Regions from separate parts of the Homo sapiens genome. Here region 1 is linked to region 2. Evidence: promoter capture Hi-C in 16 types of primary human blood cells and fetal thymus (Javierre and others, 2016). All regions are on one chromosome and are shown on one strand. The core of a region is centred on a gene start or on the middle of the fragment in contact, and the rest is flanking DNA. Distances in the headings are between cores, read along the strand shown.

Region 1 (5,231 bases), core at 64-2,563, 1.4 Mb before region 2:
ACGAATTTCTCACAAAGGCTGAGTTTCTAATAACATAATTATTCCAACACTCATCTTGAGACCACATAATTAAGAAACAGTAATACTTGGATATTTTTTTTAATTTGAGAGGTCTACATAAACGATTCTCTGCATGATTCTTTCTTTGATCATTGAAGCTGTCATTTTCTTTTTTCATTCTTAGGAAATCATTCCACATAACAAAATTGAATTTCTTTCAAGCCATAAAATTATTGGAATATAACATCCACCCTAACTTCATCTACATAACATGAAGTATATAATTTCCACTCAAAATTAATTCTCAATGTAAACAAGAATAACAATAAACCAAAATTCACTTATGTTTACTATGAAATAGATTTAACGATCAGGAAGTCCCATGACAAAAAAGGGAGATTCAGTGACGGGAACAGTGATTAAGTTAGCCAAGATGCTCAGCAGTAGGAGAATACACTTTTTTTTCCCACTTGGCAAAGCTTAAATAATTTTTTAAGTGTCAGATTCTGTTCTTATTTTATCAGCCAAAGGAGGCTTGGTTTCCAAGCCGTGTATCCGTCAAGAAATTGGAATTCAAGCAAACACATATTTTGAAGTTTGATGCATTGAAGCCAAACACTGTAGAGACAATGATAAATATGATATGGTCCATCTTAAAAATGTTTTTGGTGTTTGTGTGAAACATCCTGTAAGCTGGAATTAAGCAGCAAAGAGCAATGATGCCCAGAAGCTGCAGCCCCGTGTGGCCCCCTAATTCCACAGTAAGACCCCTTATTTGTCTTCAGAATAAAAGATGAGCACACCGCACACATGGTATTGTGTCCCAAGTACATCAACTTTCCATGTTTTGGCGTGGAAACAAGAAACATCTTTACTTCAATTCCATAAAGTAGTTCTCTAAATTTTAGAAATATAAATATGTTTGCCTTTTGGGACCAATATATATATTTCCCCTTGAACTCACTTATTCATCCATTTATTTCACAAATTTATAAGGAGCTTGCCCTGTGCTAGGTGCTGTGATACCTGCTGGAGACACAGTGGTGAAGAGACACAGGAGGTCTCAGCACACAGGTGAGACCCACACATGGGCCCCGAGTGCTGTGGGGGCACCAGGCACTCTGCTAAGTGCTTCATGTGCCTCACTCATCAACACAGCAACTCCATGGGGCAGGCACTGCCCTGGCCCTGAAATGAGTGAGGCCAAGGTGTGTAAGTGAACACGTGTTCACTTGCGCTGTGACCAGGTAGAGTCAGAAGTTCAGCCAGCACACACCAGCTGCAAGAACCCGGCTCTGAAGTCCTCATGTGTCACTAGTTCATGAGCTACTGATCACACACATGCAGTCACACAGATAAACAGTCACACCGTGCACAAGCTCTGGGAGGGGGACACACTGCATATGAGACTGTTTCAGATGGCAGTGCCCGGCCTGATGAGGAAGGGCAAGGAAGGCCCCCAGGGGAAGCCTTGAGGCAGTGTGGAAGGGTGGGTGGGTGGAGAGCATAATATGAAGAGGGAGGGGTCCAAGCTCAGCACAGATGCCAAGAGCCAGACCTTTGAAAATATGTGGCCAAGACCCAGGAGTGCCTGGACACACGGAAGCCAGCTATTACCAGAGATAGTGACATGCAGGTGAACATCTGGGGAGTAGGAGGTGGGGAAGGGTGTTACAGACAGGAATTCCTACTCAGGACACTGCTCGGCTCTAGATAGCGCAAAGGTGAATTTTCCAAGGTAAATGCACTTTGTGAGATCTCAAGTGCCACACAGATTCACAGTCACCCTTATTACAACATGGGGAAATTTTAATCACTGCTAATAGTAGATGCTCAAGTCCTAAGATCTTATGAAACAAGCCAAGAAAGCTACTTCTGATCAATTTTAAGAACAAGTAAAGAGAAAAGCAGGCCATTTGTGTACCGTTTCAAGCAAAAAGCAACAAGATGAATATTCTTCATGTATACATAGCCTACATAGGCTGAAGGCTCCATCTCAAAATTCCCCTTCACAGCCTAAACCTTCCTCAGCCCCTGAGTTGACCACCCTGCCTATACCGTATTTTCCCGTTTCTCAAATCACTGGCAAGTGTTATTTGGGAATTGAGTCATATTGGCTAGTTTTGTGCCACCATGAGGAAGCTTGCAAGGTCTTTGGTAGTCAAGCTGATGACTTACGCTTCCCTAGACCAGCAGCTTTGTCTGGGCACACCCAGATGCGTGCAAACACTTTGAGCACTGAAGGTCCGCAGGCCTCCGCAATCACTGAGCATTTGAGACTCCTCTGGGGCCATGCATCCACCAGCTCTCAGCGCAGGTCAGAAAAGGAGCCTCACAGAGACTTCTCATTTATTTTACATTCATTACCCTGCTAATTTCCAAAGCGAGGTGCCTGAAGCTAGCTTAGCAACAAGCAGGCGTGACGGCTGTCCCACGGCTGATTCTGAATGTGCTTTGTCAGTGTGTTTGTTTTTCCTTCGTGCTAACTTTATCTTCAGAACCTATTAAGTTTAATCCCAGCAGTACTAATTAGAGGTGGCAACAACAGAAATCCTCTGCAAGGGCTTTTAGAAATCGACCGCCACTTCAGTAAGAACAGCCATGCTCTTCTTTTCATTCCTTGTCGCTTCCTCGGGCATTCCACAAGGAGCTACAATCTGGTGTTTAGAGAGCTGAAGGGCACTTATAGAACCAAGCTCTACACCAAGTAAAAAGAGATTTTAAGCATATGTGGATTCAAATGAGAAATCTGTGCAAGTGTGCCACACACCTCTCTTAACCTCATTTGGGGATTTCTGTGCATACTGTACTTAAAATTAAGTAAGATAAGCTGTTTTTAAGATGTCGTGTCTTGGTGGCGTTGAACCATAATTTTCTGCCTCCTCAGTGGAAGTTCAAGCTTGTGGTCATACAAGGAAATGTAAACTCTGAAACTGAAGAGCTTCACTAGGACTACTAGGGAAGTGCAAGTTTAGGGAAATGAAAGTTGTCTCCAGGGTATGACATCATCTGATGACCTTGTGATGAGCCCATGGTTTATTAAATGTGTTTAAAACACACATAGGGAAGTGAGGGGTGAGAGACGGGGCAGGTTAATAGCAGGGCAGCATTTGGGGGGAAGCCCAGAGCATGAGGCCTGGTTAGCACCATATTCACATGTCCTGTCTTCCTCTCCCACATCGGTTTTCCCTGCTGATGGGGTGGTGACGAAGACCAGATTTGGAGTTGGATCAGGGCCTCACAGACAAAGGGCACCTAGAGCCAACAGCACAGATGTGTCCTATTGGAGAAACACAGCAACTTGTTCTTCTGAGAGACGTACTGCACTGGCTATAGCTGCAGGTCGCCAGTTAGCCTGCTGGACAGCCACAGTTTGATTGGCATGCTCTGGGCTGATGCAGGGGTAACAGAGCTGTCAGTCCAGTGAGGGCATGATCAGTAACACTATTTGCGCCATCATATATTCCATGTAAGACTTCTGTCTTCAACACATCACACCCATAATTAACTCACCATTGAACACATTGATGAATCTGCCCTTACTTCACAAGCCACTTCTCACTCATTTCCTTACCGTAACACACCCTTTGAGATGCACCTGCACCTCATGAGCTGGCAGCTCGCCTACCCTCTGTGCTTAATATGCTTCTCAGTTTCACCCTTTTCATCTATTCATTGTTCTCTACAGCAAAGCTGAATATACTTGATACAGCAAAGTCATGTCACAGTAAGAATCTAAAGTCCATTAGGAGTAAGTTTTGGGAAACCTCTCCCACCAACCTATATCTAAGCTGAAATGGTTTGGGTCTGTGTCCCTGCCCAAATGTCATGTCAAATTTAATCCCCAAAGTTGGAGGCAGGGCCTGGTGGGAGGTGATTGGATTTTGAGGGTGGATTTCTCCCTTTGCTGCTGTTCTTGTAGCAGAGTTCTCAGGAGATCTAGTTGTTTAAAAGTGTGTGGTGGCCAGGCGCAGTGGTTCATGGCTGTAATCCCAGCACTTTGGGAGGCCAAGGCAGGCGGATCACCTGAAGTCAGGAGTTCGAGACCAGCCTGACCAACATGGAGAAACCCTGTCTACTAAAAATACAAAATTAGCCAGGCACAGTGGCACTTGCCTGTAATCCCAGCTACTCAGGAGGCTGAGGCAGGAGAATCGCTTGAACCCTGGAGGCAGAGGTTGTGATGAGCTGAGATTGCACCCTTGCACTCCAGCCTGGGCAGCAAGAGCAAAACTCTGTCTCAAAAAAAAAAAAAAAAAAAAAGTGTGTGTGGCACCTGCCTCTTCTCTCTCTTGCTACTCTGGCCATGTAAGACATACCTGCCTCCCCTGCGTGCCTTCCACCATTATTGAAAACTTCCTCAGGTCTCCCCAGGAGCAGAGCAGAAGCCTCTATGCTTCCTGCACAGCCTGCAGAACTGTCAGCCCATTAACCCTCTTTTTTCTTTTTAATAAGTTGCCCAGCCTCAGGTATTTATAGCAGTGCAAGAATGGACTAATATATAAACCATTAGCTGGAATCTGGTGAATAAAATCTCTTACAAGCTTTAGAATGTTAGAGCTGGGATTTACAGAATGACAACTAGCAAATAACAACATGGAAAAATGTCCAGCTCCCCTGTTGAGTAGAGAAAAGTAGAAGGGCTTTATGCAACTGGGTAAGATGTATACCCAAGCGTGGGAACAAAGGAACACACAAGAATTTTTAAAATTGTATTACGGTGATGGAATTACGGGTGATGTTTTCTCTATTTTATAAACTTGCCTTACTGTTCTGATTAAAAAGTATGTAAAAGCTGGTAGGAGCCTCATCCATCACATGGGCAAACACCTTCAATTTCCTACACAAGGACCTTCTTTGCATAGTAGACTATTTCTGTTTAGCCTTAACTCTATGTTTTTAATATTGATGTTTTCTCTCAGGTGATGGCAGCCCTGGACCTCAGCAAACAACCTTGGTCTATGTGGCATTGGCCTGGAAATGAGTGTCTGCAGCCTGGAAATTTAGATCTTAAGTGTGCTCTTGTTGCAGTGTCTGACATGCCCCCAAACGACTGTCCCTAGAGAAACATCTGGGACTGTGAGTAACACACATGGAGAGGAAGAGAGGGAGGAAGCCATGGATTTTTCCAAAAGGTACCGTTGGGACATTATATGCAAAACATTAGGTCTTGGCCGGGTATGGTGGCTCATACCTGTAATCCCAGCACTTTGGGAGGCTGAGGCAGGTGG
Region 2 (4,678 bases), core at 1,885-4,384:
TAATGGCCTGTATTGAAGGAAAAGTAATGCAGTAACATGACTTGAATTATTTTTAAAATATATTTTAATATTTCATACCTCAGTATTAATCTGTATTTTCTGTGAAATGACAGAAAAATTCATTGTAAGATTTTGCTTTTGTATTCATTTTGATTTTGAGTTGAGTTTCAGTAATTTTTATAGCTTAGTGTTCAAAGATTACTTTCAATTTTTAGTAATGGGTTTATTGCATTTAAAGTGTTTTAACCGAAGACTTAGAATAAGAAGAAAGCCTTAAGCTACACTTCTGTAGCCTACAAAGTTATTGAGCAAAGGTGGCAATAATTGTTTGCCTGATTATTATTATTACTCCTTGCCTCTTAATTTTGGAGGATGCATTATAGCCTTTCTATTAAACTTCAATATTTATAAAAACAATATACTGATCCTTTCTTATAAATATTTATAAGTTCTTAGCAGGAGCTACCTAATATGGTTCTGATGGTTCTGTGAGAGGCTGAACACACTCAATGTCTGTGGGGTTTCCTGAATGGAGACTAGCTGAGGTATTTTAACTGGCATAAAAACATCTGGTCTACAACATCAAATCACTCCAACATTGATATCATCATGTTTTAATTTTTTCTGAGTAGTCAGGTCAATGAACTTAGTGCTAAAAAAAGGAGGGAAAATGTACCAGATGACTTTGCCATTCATTTTCAAGGAAACCAGTTATTTATTCCATCACTCTATGGCTTCCTCTTCCACACTCTTGGGTCTCTGTGCACCCTTGTTGAACCCTATGACAGAAGTTAAGAAGGGATTTTCTGAGGGGGGAAGAGAATCATAACCAATGTTTATAGAGCTCTTCCTATAGACTAAGTGGCTCACGTGGATTGTTGCAAATCCTCGAAATCCTTGGACAGGTGTTGCTATTCTCTCTCCTTCACAAATGAGCAGTAGAGGTTTAAGGTGATCAACTCGTCCAAAGTCACACAGGAACTCCAGAGCCCGTGTTCTGGACCATGTACATACTTCTTCAGGTGGTTTTTCATCTACTTTTACGATACAGTAGTGCATAATAAGCATGTGAGTCGTATTTGGAAGGTATAATAAAGTGGACACTAAGGCAACCACCTCCCAGCTTCAGATAAACATCACCACCAATACCTCTGCAGTCTTGGGGGCCCGCCTTCCCCTCCCACCTGGTACAGGCCTTATCTCCGGAGCCTCCTACCAACACCTGCTGCACTTCCCCCACTGGATTCTGTGCTGCACACAAAGGCTAGGCTCATTTTCCTTAAAAAAACAAAAAACAAAAACCAAACTCCTTACGCCATGGGGATGGCCCCCTTAGGGCATGTTCTGAACAAGGGACCTATGCCCAGAAACAACGCACACATCTGTGACACTCTGCAAATGATTTCAATGTTTGGCAGACTTCCTCAAACTCATGATTTGTCATTCAAACTGGGACACTTGAGAGTAAAAGGGGGAACTATCTAGTAGTCACACTGGGATGGCGGGATGGTGGGGCCACACTGGGCAAACAGGTGGCACAGTCACCTTGACTTCATCCCTGGGCTCTCATAGCTCTTCCCATCACATTGCCCGGAATGCTTTCCTCCAATCGTATGGCCCACTGACTGTCCTCATAATGATCCCAGCTTGATGGAGTGGTTATGACATCGCCTTCCTGAATAAGATGAGGGTTCTAGCTTGGTTGGAGAGCATAGTATAGTGCTTACTAATCAACACCCATCCATTAGGATCTGGCTGACATCCACCTCTCCCATCAAGTCTTCTGACTGTACCAATGCAGTCTTCTCTCCTTTCACAGACGGTTTTAGCACAGGCTGTGTGCCTGGCTTGCATGCCGTCATAGCCCGCCTGGTATTCTTCCACAGTGGTTCAGAGCACTGGCTCTGGAGCCGGGATTCTAGGTTCCAACCTGGCTTGGGCACTCACTAGCTCTAGGACTTTGGGCAAGTTATTGAACCTCTCTGAGCACTAATTTTCTCAATATCTACCTCATAGGGTTGGCTGAGAGGATCGAATGCGTTACTTGTATTTAGAACAGTATCTGGAACAGAATAGGAGCTACAGAAGCATTAGCTCTCACTGTCGCCTTAAGGCAATAATCTTGTCAAATGCCTATTAAAAAAAAATAGCCACTAGAGAGCTCTTCCCAATGTATGCACACAGTGTGTGTCAAAAATACTTCCCAACAGGTATTTCCCACAAAGGTGTGGGATGTCTGAGAAGCTCAGTGCTCCTGTGGTTAACAAACCTGGTGACAAAGGAGACTGTGTCAAGCCTGAACAAAGGAACAAGAGCTCCGATATACTTTAATCCTCTTCCCTGGAGGCCTCACATCAACACTGTCCACAGTCTAGTTCCTATTACAGCTGGAATGGAGCAGATGGCCGGTGGTTTTACACTTATCTTACTTGATCGTCACACAAGGGCAGATGGGGCTGGTAGGGCAGAAAATGACCCCAATTTGACTCAAAGAAATTGAGACTCAAGGGGTACAGTGGCCTGCGAGGTTACAAGCCAGTATTTCTTCCAGACCTCACGGGGAAAGGCACCTGTAACATTCGCCTCTCCTGGAGGCCGCTTCTTGGTCATCACTGACGTCCCTGACCGCTGTGCCTGGCTTGCTGTCTTCCTATCACCGCTCACCACCCCCTTTGCTGGCTCTTCCCTCCTTCCTACTTTAAACTTGATGGCTGTTTCTCCACTTGAGCCTTGGCCTTCTCCCTGCCCAATCCTCCGTGCTGATCCAGCCCACGTTTCAAATTCCCCTTCCACGCAGCAGCCTCCCAAATCTGTCAGCAGGCTGACCCGTCGCCTGAGTCACAGTCCAATTATTTCAAGCATCTCATATGAGGTGGCCCCGAACACCTGAAACCCGAGCCGACCCCTCTGGTGTCTCCTCCTCCTCCCATCAACTTTTCTTCCTGTCTTCCTGGCTCTTTGCATTCCCAGCAGCCTGTGGATCTCATACCGAATACCCGCCCCCAGCTCTCCTGCAGCCAATCAGCTATCGCACTTGGTCCAGGTGAGAGTGGCAACGTTTCTCACACCTACTTCCTTTCTGTTCCCTGCACTGGGTCCCATCCCCTCCATGTACAATAGCTGCCTGGCAGGTCTCTTCCTTCTAGCAACTCCCTGCTCCTGCAGTCCCTCCGTGACCTTCCTGATGGGGAGATCCTCAAGACTTTTCCCATGAGCTCGGGGTTCCTGAGGCCCAGAAGAAGGTGAGAGTTAAGGCTCCGATTTTGTTGTTATATTATGCACTATGACTCTACTTAATATATATATACATATATTTTAAAGGTTGCTAAAATATAGTTTAAAAACACAGTTCTAATTTCAACCCTCATCTGTTCTCTCAAAGGAGAAAAAAAGGCTGATTCCCCTTTGGCAGTGCAGGAACATCACCATGAATTTCAGACCCTCCACAAATCCACCTCAGCCTCCTTCCCAGCTGGTTTCCGCAGGGACCTCGTCCCTCCCCAGCAATGCCCTGGCCCGCCTGGCTTCACTCCCTGCACATTTCCTGAACTTTCCTTCCTCCTTTCTCGCCATTTTCTCCATCTGTACTCCCACCCTCTCCTTTCATGGCCTCTTTTTTCCCCACCACCTCCTCCTCAGAGTGCTACTGTCCTCAGGGCCCCCTTCCTCAGCTCTCCTCCTGGCACTGTACGAGCAGCACTCCAGGTCTCCCGTTAGACTTGAGGACTTTGTCTCCTCCACGATACCAACAGTAGCTGATGCAGGGCCAGATGGCATATACTTCAGGCAGCTCTGCACTGCCCCAGGACACCAGGTATGGCAAGAGCTCAGCAAGCGGGCGATCCGTGCCGGCAGGGCTGCCCGCCATCCCATCTCAGCACACCCACGCCACGTGGGGTAACCACTTGTCACTTCTCTCTTGTCAAAATGGTAAAAAGTATACTCCAACAGATACAGGCTAAATCAACACCACCGACCAAAACCTGCCACAGACAATTTCACTAGAGAATGACCGCCACACAGAAAAAACCCCAGAAAGTATTTTCTACAGTTTCATCTGAAATGAAAAGGGCACTGGGTACCGCAGGGTACTGGGTACTCACTCTCACTTGTTCATCACCATGTTATTTTATTTTACCTCATAAAGGATTTGATGTGTATATACATGTCTCAGAACTTATTCAAGATTATTTTAAAAAGACACTTATGAAGAAATCAGTGGCATACAACTCTTTATATAAAGGATAATTGAGCATTGAGGGTCTAATTCTTGAAGCAATATTTTTACTTAAAATAACTGCATTGAAATGGATTTTTTTTTTTTTTTTTTGAGACAGGATCTGACTGTTACCCAGGCTGGAGTGCAGTGGCACAATCTCGACTTACTGCAGCCTCTGCCTCCTGGGTTCCAGCGATTCTCCCACCTCAGCCTCCCGAGTAGCTGGCACTATTGGCGCATGCCACCACACCCGGCTAATTTTTGTATTTTTTGGTAGAGATGGGGTTTCACCATGTTGGCCAGGCTGGTCTCAAACTCCTGGCCTCAAGTGATCCACCTGCCTCAGCCTCCCAAAGTGCTGGGATTACAGGCGTGAGCCACCACACCTGGCTTAAAATGGGTTTTAAAGTACCCCTGTTACCAACTGCCCCTTTCCTCCCTCAAAAACCTACTGCACAA

The links. Contacts are between HindIII fragments. The CHiCAGO score rates a contact against its expected background, and 5 or more counts as called.
Region 1: a contact is called between a fragment that was not itself captured here and the fragment with the promoter of MRPS9-AS1 in region 2, in 1 of 17 cell types (naive CD8 T cells). The highest score is 5.6, in naive CD8 T cells.

The regions. Positions count from the first base shown.
Region 1 is chr2:106,535,063-106,540,293 of GRCh38, reverse strand. It overlaps a transcript of CD8B2 not described here. Among named protein-coding and RNA genes, the nearest start is that of CD8B2, 50 kb to the right of the region's middle. The HindIII fragment of the contact is 1,663 bases long and covers 482-2,144 here.
Region 2 is chr2:105,101,400-105,106,077 of GRCh38, reverse strand. It overlaps MRPS9-AS1 (MRPS9 antisense RNA 1), which reads left to right and starts at 3,134. Exons shown (of 4, transcript NR_110227.1): 1 at 3,134-3,242. It overlaps LOC105373527 (a long non-coding RNA gene), which reads right to left and starts at 4,321. Exons shown (of 3, transcript XR_923138.3): 1 at 1,315-4,321; 2 at 871-1,037; 3 at 599-779. RefSeq lists enhancers at 856-1,716, 1,717-2,578. The HindIII fragment of the contact is 13,539 bases long and covers 1-4,678 here.